2 separate regions of the Homo sapiens genome follow, and region 2 is linked to region 1. Evidence: promoter capture Hi-C in human tissues and cell types (Jung and others, 2019). All regions are on one chromosome and are shown on one strand. The core of a region is centred on a gene start or on the middle of the fragment in contact, and the rest is flanking DNA. Distances in the headings are between cores, read along the strand shown. Region 1 holds the start of TTR (transthyretin). Region 2 overlaps RNF138 (ring finger protein 138).

Region 1 (3,770 bases), core at 1,271-3,770:
GCAAAAAGAAAATACTACTTACATGGCTGTTGGAAGACCAGCAATCACAAACTCAGTTTTTCAAAAGGCTGGGCAGAAACACAGATGAAAGAAACAGGCCATGTTTAAGAAAAGATAAAAGCTCACGCATGATATGCCACTAGAGAATCACCTAGCCTCAGTGTTGGCGGGGAGGCCTGGGGAGTCTTGATGTCTGAGAGTGACATTCTGATGATCACTGTCATGTGTAAATGTTGGCCTAAAGCTGCCAATATTTTTGATTTAAGAGAAGCAAGAAATGCAAATTTTTATGCAGCATGTCTCAATTTTTAATTTTGGCAACTATTACAAAATGTTTAAAGAGACTCTGTGCAGCCCAAATATAACATATCTATGGGCTGATGGCAGCCCAGCGTTGCCAGTTCACAGGGTCTACAAGAGATGATTCTTAGTTTCAACAGGGTGCAGTGCTGAAACGCGTGCACAGTAGATTTTGCTTCGGTTATGAAAGAACTTCCAAATATTTATGATTCATAGCCAGAGAAAAGGCTCTCTATCCAGGTTCTGAACAATAGGAAATCATCAAGAGGATATTGGATGACAATATATGAAAGATGTTATTTGAGAAAGGATTCTCTCCTGAGGCATAGATGTTGAACCAAATTCTATTAGTTATGCTTTTACAGCAAGATAGTGGTTTACAGCTTACAAAAGGCTTGTACATCCTCTCATATTAAAAGTTATTAGAACAGTCCTTTGAAGTAGAAAAGTAGGCATTTCTATTTTACAAACGAGTTGGCCGAGTATCTGAGATAGTAGATAACTCATAGAAGGTCATCCGGGAAACGGGGCAGCAGAACTGGGATCGAATGACTCTGGTCATCCAACTCCAAATGCAAAAGTCTTTCTGCTGCTGCTTCCTAGTTAAACTCTAAGGGTCTAAGACTCCATTCCTAGTTATGGTCTCAACTACATTTGCTCATTGCTGTGAGGGGTCAACCCACCTCCCGGAGTCCTCTCCTGCACATTCTCATGTTCCTGAAAGGCTTTTCTGTCCCTTCCACTACTCCCTGTAAGCTCCTGTGCTTCACAATTTCTTGTTGAATTTTTTCTAATCTGACTCTATCAGTTATGGGAATGTTCCCTCAATTCTTAGTGCTCCAAACCGGACTTGCTCTTGGCTTGTATTTGTCCAAAATATTTGTCTTCTCTATGTTTTCTACATGTTTGTCTTATAAGGACAAAAACCTGCCTTAGTTTATCCATGAACAAAGCCACGCATGCTAGTGGACACACACACACATGCGCGTGCGCGCGCACACACACACACACACACATACACACAGAGACTTTGTATGTGAGTAATGAATCATCAAATCATCATAATTTCTGGACTTGTATTAATAAGTCGGCCAGGAGGAAAAGAATCTGCTGTCAATCATGGCTTCTGGTTCTCACAGTCATCTCTACTTTCTTCCAGCAAGTTTGGTTCTGTCAAAAACCAGCTGTCAGCCTTGTTCCTGCATGCCCAATGCAGAAGAGTCAGTAAAGAAGATTTGGTTCTCTGTATTTCAGGGGCATCAATGCCAGGTTGAAATATGCCATTCTGGCCCAGCTCAGTGGCTCACACGTGTAATCCCAGCACTTTGGAAGGCCAAAGCGGGTGGATTGCTTGAGCTCAGGAGTTCGAGACCAGCCTGGGCAAGAGGCTGAGGTGGGAGGATGACCTGAGCCCGGGAGGTCAAGGCTGCAGCGAGCTGTGATCGTGCCACTGCACTCGAGCCAGGGCGTTGGAGTGAGACCCTGTCAAAAAAAAAAAAAAAAAGGAAGGAAAAAAGGAAGGAAGGAAGGGAGGGAGGGAAGATGCCATTCTTAGATTGAAGTGGACTTTATCTGGGCAGAACACACACACACATACACACATGCACACACACATTGTGGAGAAATTGCTGACTAAGCAAAGCTTCCAAATGACTTAGTTTGGCTAAAATGTAGGCTTTTAAAAATGTGAGCACTGCCAAGGGTTTTTCCTTGTTGACCCATGGATCCATCAAGTGCAAACATTTTCTAATGCACTATATTTAAGCCTGTGCAGCTAGATGTCATTCAACATGAAATACATTATTACAACTTGCATCTGTCTAAAATCTTGCATCTAAAATGAGAGACAAAAAATCTATAAAAATGGAAAACATGCATAGAAATATGTGAGGGAGGAAAAAATTACCCCCAAGAATGTTAGTGCACGCAGTCACACAGGGAGAAGACTATTTTTGTTTTGTTTTGATTGTTTTGTTTTGTTTTGGTTGTTTTGTTTTGGTGACCTAACTGGTCAAATGACCTATTAAGAATATTTCATAGAACGAATGTTCCGATGCTCTAATCTCTCTAGACAAGGTTCATATTTGTATGGGTTACTTATTCTCTCTTTGTTGACTAAGTCAATAATCAGAATCAGCAGGTTTGCAGTCAGATTGGCAGGGATAAGCAGCCTAGCTCAGGAGAAGTGAGTATAAAAGCCCCAGGCTGGGAGCAGCCATCACAGAAGTCCACTCATTCTTGGCAGGATGGCTTCTCATCGTCTGCTCCTCCTCTGCCTTGCTGGACTGGTATTTGTGTCTGAGGCTGGCCCTACGGTGAGTGTTTCTGTGACATCCCATTCCTACATTTAAGATTCACGCTAAATGAAGTAGAAGTGACTCCTTCCAGCTTTGCCAACCAGCTTTTATTACTAGGGCAAGGGTACCCAGCATCTATTTTTAATATAATTAATTCAAACTTCAAAAAGAATGAAGTTCCACTGAGCTTACTGAGCTGGGACTTGAACTCTGAGCATTCTACCTCATTGCTTTGGTGCATTAGGTTTGTAATATCTGGTACCTCTGTTTCCTCAGATAGATGATAGAAATAAAGATATGATATTAAGGAAGCTGTTAATACTGAATTTTCAGAAAAGTATCCCTCCATAAAATGTATTTGGGGGACAAACTGCAGGAGATTATATTCTGGCCCTATAGTTATTCAAAACGTATTTATTGATTAATCTTTAAAAGGCTTAGTGAACAATATTCTAGTCAGATATCTAATTCTTAAATCCTCTAGAAGAATTAACTAATACTATAAAATGGGTCTGGATGTAGTTCTGACATTATTTTATAACAACTGGTAAGAGGGAGTGACTATAGCAACAACTAAAATGATCTCAGGAAAACCTGTTTGGCCCTATGTATGGTACATTACATCTTTTCAGTAATTCCACTCAAATGGAGACTTTTAACAAAGCAACTGTTCTCAGGGGACCTATTTTCTCCCTTAAAATTCATTATACACATCCCTGGTTGATAGCAGTGTGTCTGGAGGCAGAAACCATTCTTGCTTTGGAAACAATTACGTCTGTGTTATACTGAGTAGGGAAGCTCATTAATTGTCGACACTTACGTTCCTGATAATGGGATCAGTGTGTAATTCTTGTTTCGCTCCAGATTTCTAATACCACAAAGAATAAATCCTTTCACTCTGATCAATTTTGTTAACTTCTCACGTGTCTTCTCTACACCCAGGGCACCGGTGAATCCAAGTGTCCTCTGATGGTCAAAGTTCTAGATGCTGTCCGAGGCAGTCCTGCCATCAATGTGGCCGTGCATGTGTTCAGAAAGGCTGCTGATGACACCTGGGAGCCATTTGCCTCTGGGTAAGTTGCCAAAGAACCCTCCCACAGGACTTGGTTTTATCTTCCCGTTTGCCCCTCACTTGGTAGAGAGAGGCTCACATCATCTGCTAAAGAATTTACA
Region 2 (3,770 bases), core at 874-3,373, 510 kb after region 1:
ATTCAGCATTTGTTTATTTTTCATTTTTTGGTTAGAGACTAGTTTTAATTTAACTCTGTTGCCCAGGCTGGAGTACAGTGGGGTGGGGTGATCATTGTTCACTGTAGCTTTGAACTCCTGGAGTTAAGGAATTCTACTGCCTCATCCTTGCAAGTAGCTGAGACTACAGGTGCACACCACCATACCTCACTAATTTTTAAAAATTTTTGTAGAGGTGGGGAAATCTCACTATGTTGCCCAGGCTGGTCTTGAACTCCTAGGCTCAAATAATCCTCCTGCCTCAGCCTCCCAAAGTGTTGAGATTATAGGTGCGAGCCACTGTGTCTGGTCTCATTCAGCATTTGATTAAACATTTTTGTGTACCTGATATTCAAGGCACCAAGAAAAAAAAAAGGTTTGTCCTTCAAAGAACACAATCAATAAACAGCAATTTTCCACAAAATATTTTTATTATCCCTTTTTATCATTAAAAAAATTTTTTTAGACAAGAGTACATGTTGAGCTTTTGAAAACTTCATGGGCCGGGTGTGGTGGCTCACGCCTGTAATCCCAGCACTTTGGGAGGCCGAGGCGGGTGGATCACGAGGTCAGGAGATCGAGATCATCCTGGCTAACATGGTGAAACCCCATCTCTACTAAAAATACAAAAAAAAATTAGCCGGGCGCGGTGGCGGGCACCTGTAGTCCCAGCTACTCGGGAGGCTGAGGCAGGAGATGGTGTGAACCCTGGAGGCAGAGCTTGCAGTGAGCTGAGATTGCGCCACTGCACTCCAGCCTGGGCGACAGAGCAAGACTCCGTCTCAGAAAAAAAAAAGAAAACTTCATAGCAAATTAGGAATAGGCTAAAAAACTTTTTTTTTTTTTTTTTGGAGGCAGAGTCTAGTTCTGTCGCCCATGCCAGAGTGCAGTGGCCTGATCTTGGCTCACTGCAACCTCTGCCTTCTGGGTTCAAGCAATTCTAGTGACTTAGCCTCCCAAATAGTTGGGATTACAGGTATATGCCACCATGCCTGGCGAATTTTTGTATTTTAGTAGAGACAGGGTTTCACCATGTTGGCCAGGTTGGTCTCGAACTCCTGAGGTCAAATGATCCCCCCACTTCGGCGTCCCAAAGGGCTGAGATTACATGCATAAGCCACCAGACCTGGCCTAAAAGTTTAAAAAAAAAAATCCTCATTAAGGGTGGCTTCCCTAAAATCTATAGCAAATATACCTAGTTGTAAGCTTTAGGTGCTTTTCTAGTTAGGAACTAGTCAAAGAAGTCTGCATCACCCCTGACATTTAACATTGTATTTCAGGTTTTAGACAATTCAGTGAGAGAAGAAGAAATCAGATACACAGAGATGGAAAAGGAAGAGATAAAATTGTCATAATTTGTCGATTAAAAACAAGAGAAACAATAAGAGTACAGGGAGGTTTGATGCAAGAACAGACAAAAATCAACAACATATCTTTATACCAGCAGTAATCAGATAAAAAATTAATAGAAGAAAAACGTCACTTACAATAGCAACAAAATTATAATGTTATTTGGACTAAACAATAAAAATATACACAGCTTCTTAAAGAAAATTACAAAACTTTATTGAAAAGTGTAAGAGAACATGACATTTATGGTTAGAAAGATTTAATAAATTTAAGGTATCAATTTTCTCCACACAGTTCTAAACATACAGTTCTGGTGAAGTCCCAACATGATTTTTTGGTAGAACTTGAAAAATGGATTAAAAAATTCTAATAAAGAGCTAATGATTATGAATAACTAAGAAAATATTTGAAAAAGAAGAACATGCAGATAGCACAACCCTATCAGATATAATGAGATATTATGAAACAATAGTAATTAGTATGGTTGGCTTCTTTGATTTTCCTGTGAAAGTATTATTAAATTAAAAATATAAAAATACAAAATGAAAATTAAAAAATCATATGCTTTTTTCTCTTTTTGAGATGGAGTCTCCCTCTGTCCCCCAGGCTGGAGTGCAGTGGCACCATCTTGGCTCACTGCAACTTCTGCCTCCTGAGTTTAAGTGATTCTCCTGCCTCAGCCTCCTGAGTAGCTGGGATTACATGCACCTGCCACCATACATGGCTAATTTTTGTATTTTTAGTAGAGACAGGTTTCACCATGTTGGCCAGGCTGGTCTTGAACTCCTGACCTCAATTGATCCACCCACCTCGGCCTCCCAAAGTGCTGGGATTACAGGCATGAGCCACCGCACTGGCCAAATCGTATGGTGTTCATTCAGCAGTAGATAAATGACTAGAATATACTACAGAGTCCAGAAATAGTTCCACACGTTTTGGAACTTTTTATCTTTGATAGACGTGACATTGCAAATGAATGAGGAAAAGGTGGCTTTGATCAGTAAGATAGTATTTGGGCAATAGCTTTATATGTAGAATCTCTGCTGTGTGCTATACATGATAATATTTCCAGATGGATTGAAAACTTTAATGAGCAAAGCTTAAACTTTAGAAGGAAATGTGGGGGAATATCTCTGATCCTGAAGTGGGGAATTCTTAAGACTGCAAAAGCATAAACCATAATTTTAGGAAAAGGCCATGTCTAAAAGTTAAAAAATTTCCATATCGGAAGACCACAAGCAGCAAGGTTAAAGACAAATGATGGACTGAATGTCGTCTGTTCTACTTGCTGCAACAGATTATATCAGAACAGATAGCTTTCTATGTGACTTTTTTCCCCCTGAAAATTGTTTTGGTCCATCAACAAATGGTAGCTGAAGCAAAGCACATCAAAACATAGCTGAATATAACAAACCATAGAATTAAGCACTATGACACAAGGTGCCCAACATTCATTCTTCTTAGTTCAGTTTGGCTATGAGTTCTCTCTTGGAATACCTATTGCATGTTTCTCCTTTCCCTTGTGCATTTTAAATTTATTTCCATAATTTAACAGCTTCAACCACTTATCCCTCTCTTCTTTTAAAAAAATTTTAGGGTGAAGTGTTTATTAGGAACTTTACATACCTTTTCAGAATTGTTCGTATTTTTATTTGGATTGTTTGGGTTTTGTTAGTAGTCTGGCGACAAGGTTGCACGAGTGGTCTATTCCAACCATTTTTTTCCATAAGCCCTATAAGTTTTAGTGTGCGGGTATGCAGAATGCCAAGGTTTTCAGTGTTTCATATGTTACATTATATCAGAAATGCCTTAAGTGATACAAAATGATTTAATATCCAGAAGATGCAGTTCTAGGTTATAAATCATTTCTCCTCAGAACTTTGAACACATCATTCTATTTGTCATTTGTTATTGCTCATGAGTTTGATGCTAATCTGATTCTCTTTCCTTAGTAGGTGATCTATTTTTACTTCCTCTCTGGAAGATACTAGAAGTTGAAAAATTATTTTTTATTTTATTTTATTTATTTATTTATTTATTTATTTGTTTATTGAGATGGAGTCTCGCTCTGTCACACAGGCTTGAGTGCAGTTGTGCGATCTCGGTTCATGGCAAGCTCCGCCTCCCAGGTTCACGCCATCCTCCTGCCTCAGCCTCTTGAGTAGCTGGGACTACAGGCGCCCGTCACCATGCCTAGCTAATTTTTTGTATTTTTAGTAGAGACAGGGTTTCACCGTGTTAGAGCCAGGATGATCTTGATTTCCTGACCTCGTGATCCGCCTGCCTCGGCCTCCCAAAGTGCTGGTATTACAGGCGTGAGCCACCGCGCCCGGCTGAAAAATTATTATTTGAAGTTTTTCCAGTAATCTCTCTGGTTGTGACTCTTAAATTTATTGTACAGG

The links. Contacts are between HindIII fragments. The study calls those that stand out against the background at their distance.
Region 2: a contact is called between a fragment that was not itself captured here and the fragment with the promoter of TTR in region 1, in 1 of the 25 tissues and cell types used here (lymphoblastoid cells).

The regions. Positions count from the first base shown.
Region 1 is chr18:31,589,357-31,593,126 of GRCh38, forward strand. TTR (transthyretin) reads left to right here and starts at 2,521. Exons shown (of 4, transcript NM_000371.4): 1 at 2,521-2,615; 2 at 3,540-3,670. The coding sequence starts at 2,547. The HindIII fragment of the contact is 7,126 bases long and covers 460-3,770 here.
Region 2 is chr18:32,103,163-32,106,932 of GRCh38, forward strand. The region is part of intron 2 of RNF138 (ring finger protein 138); the gene reads left to right. Among named protein-coding and RNA genes, the nearest start is that of RNF138, 13 kb to the left of the region's middle. RefSeq lists an enhancer at 3,550-3,649. The HindIII fragment of the contact is 6,388 bases long and covers 1-3,770 here.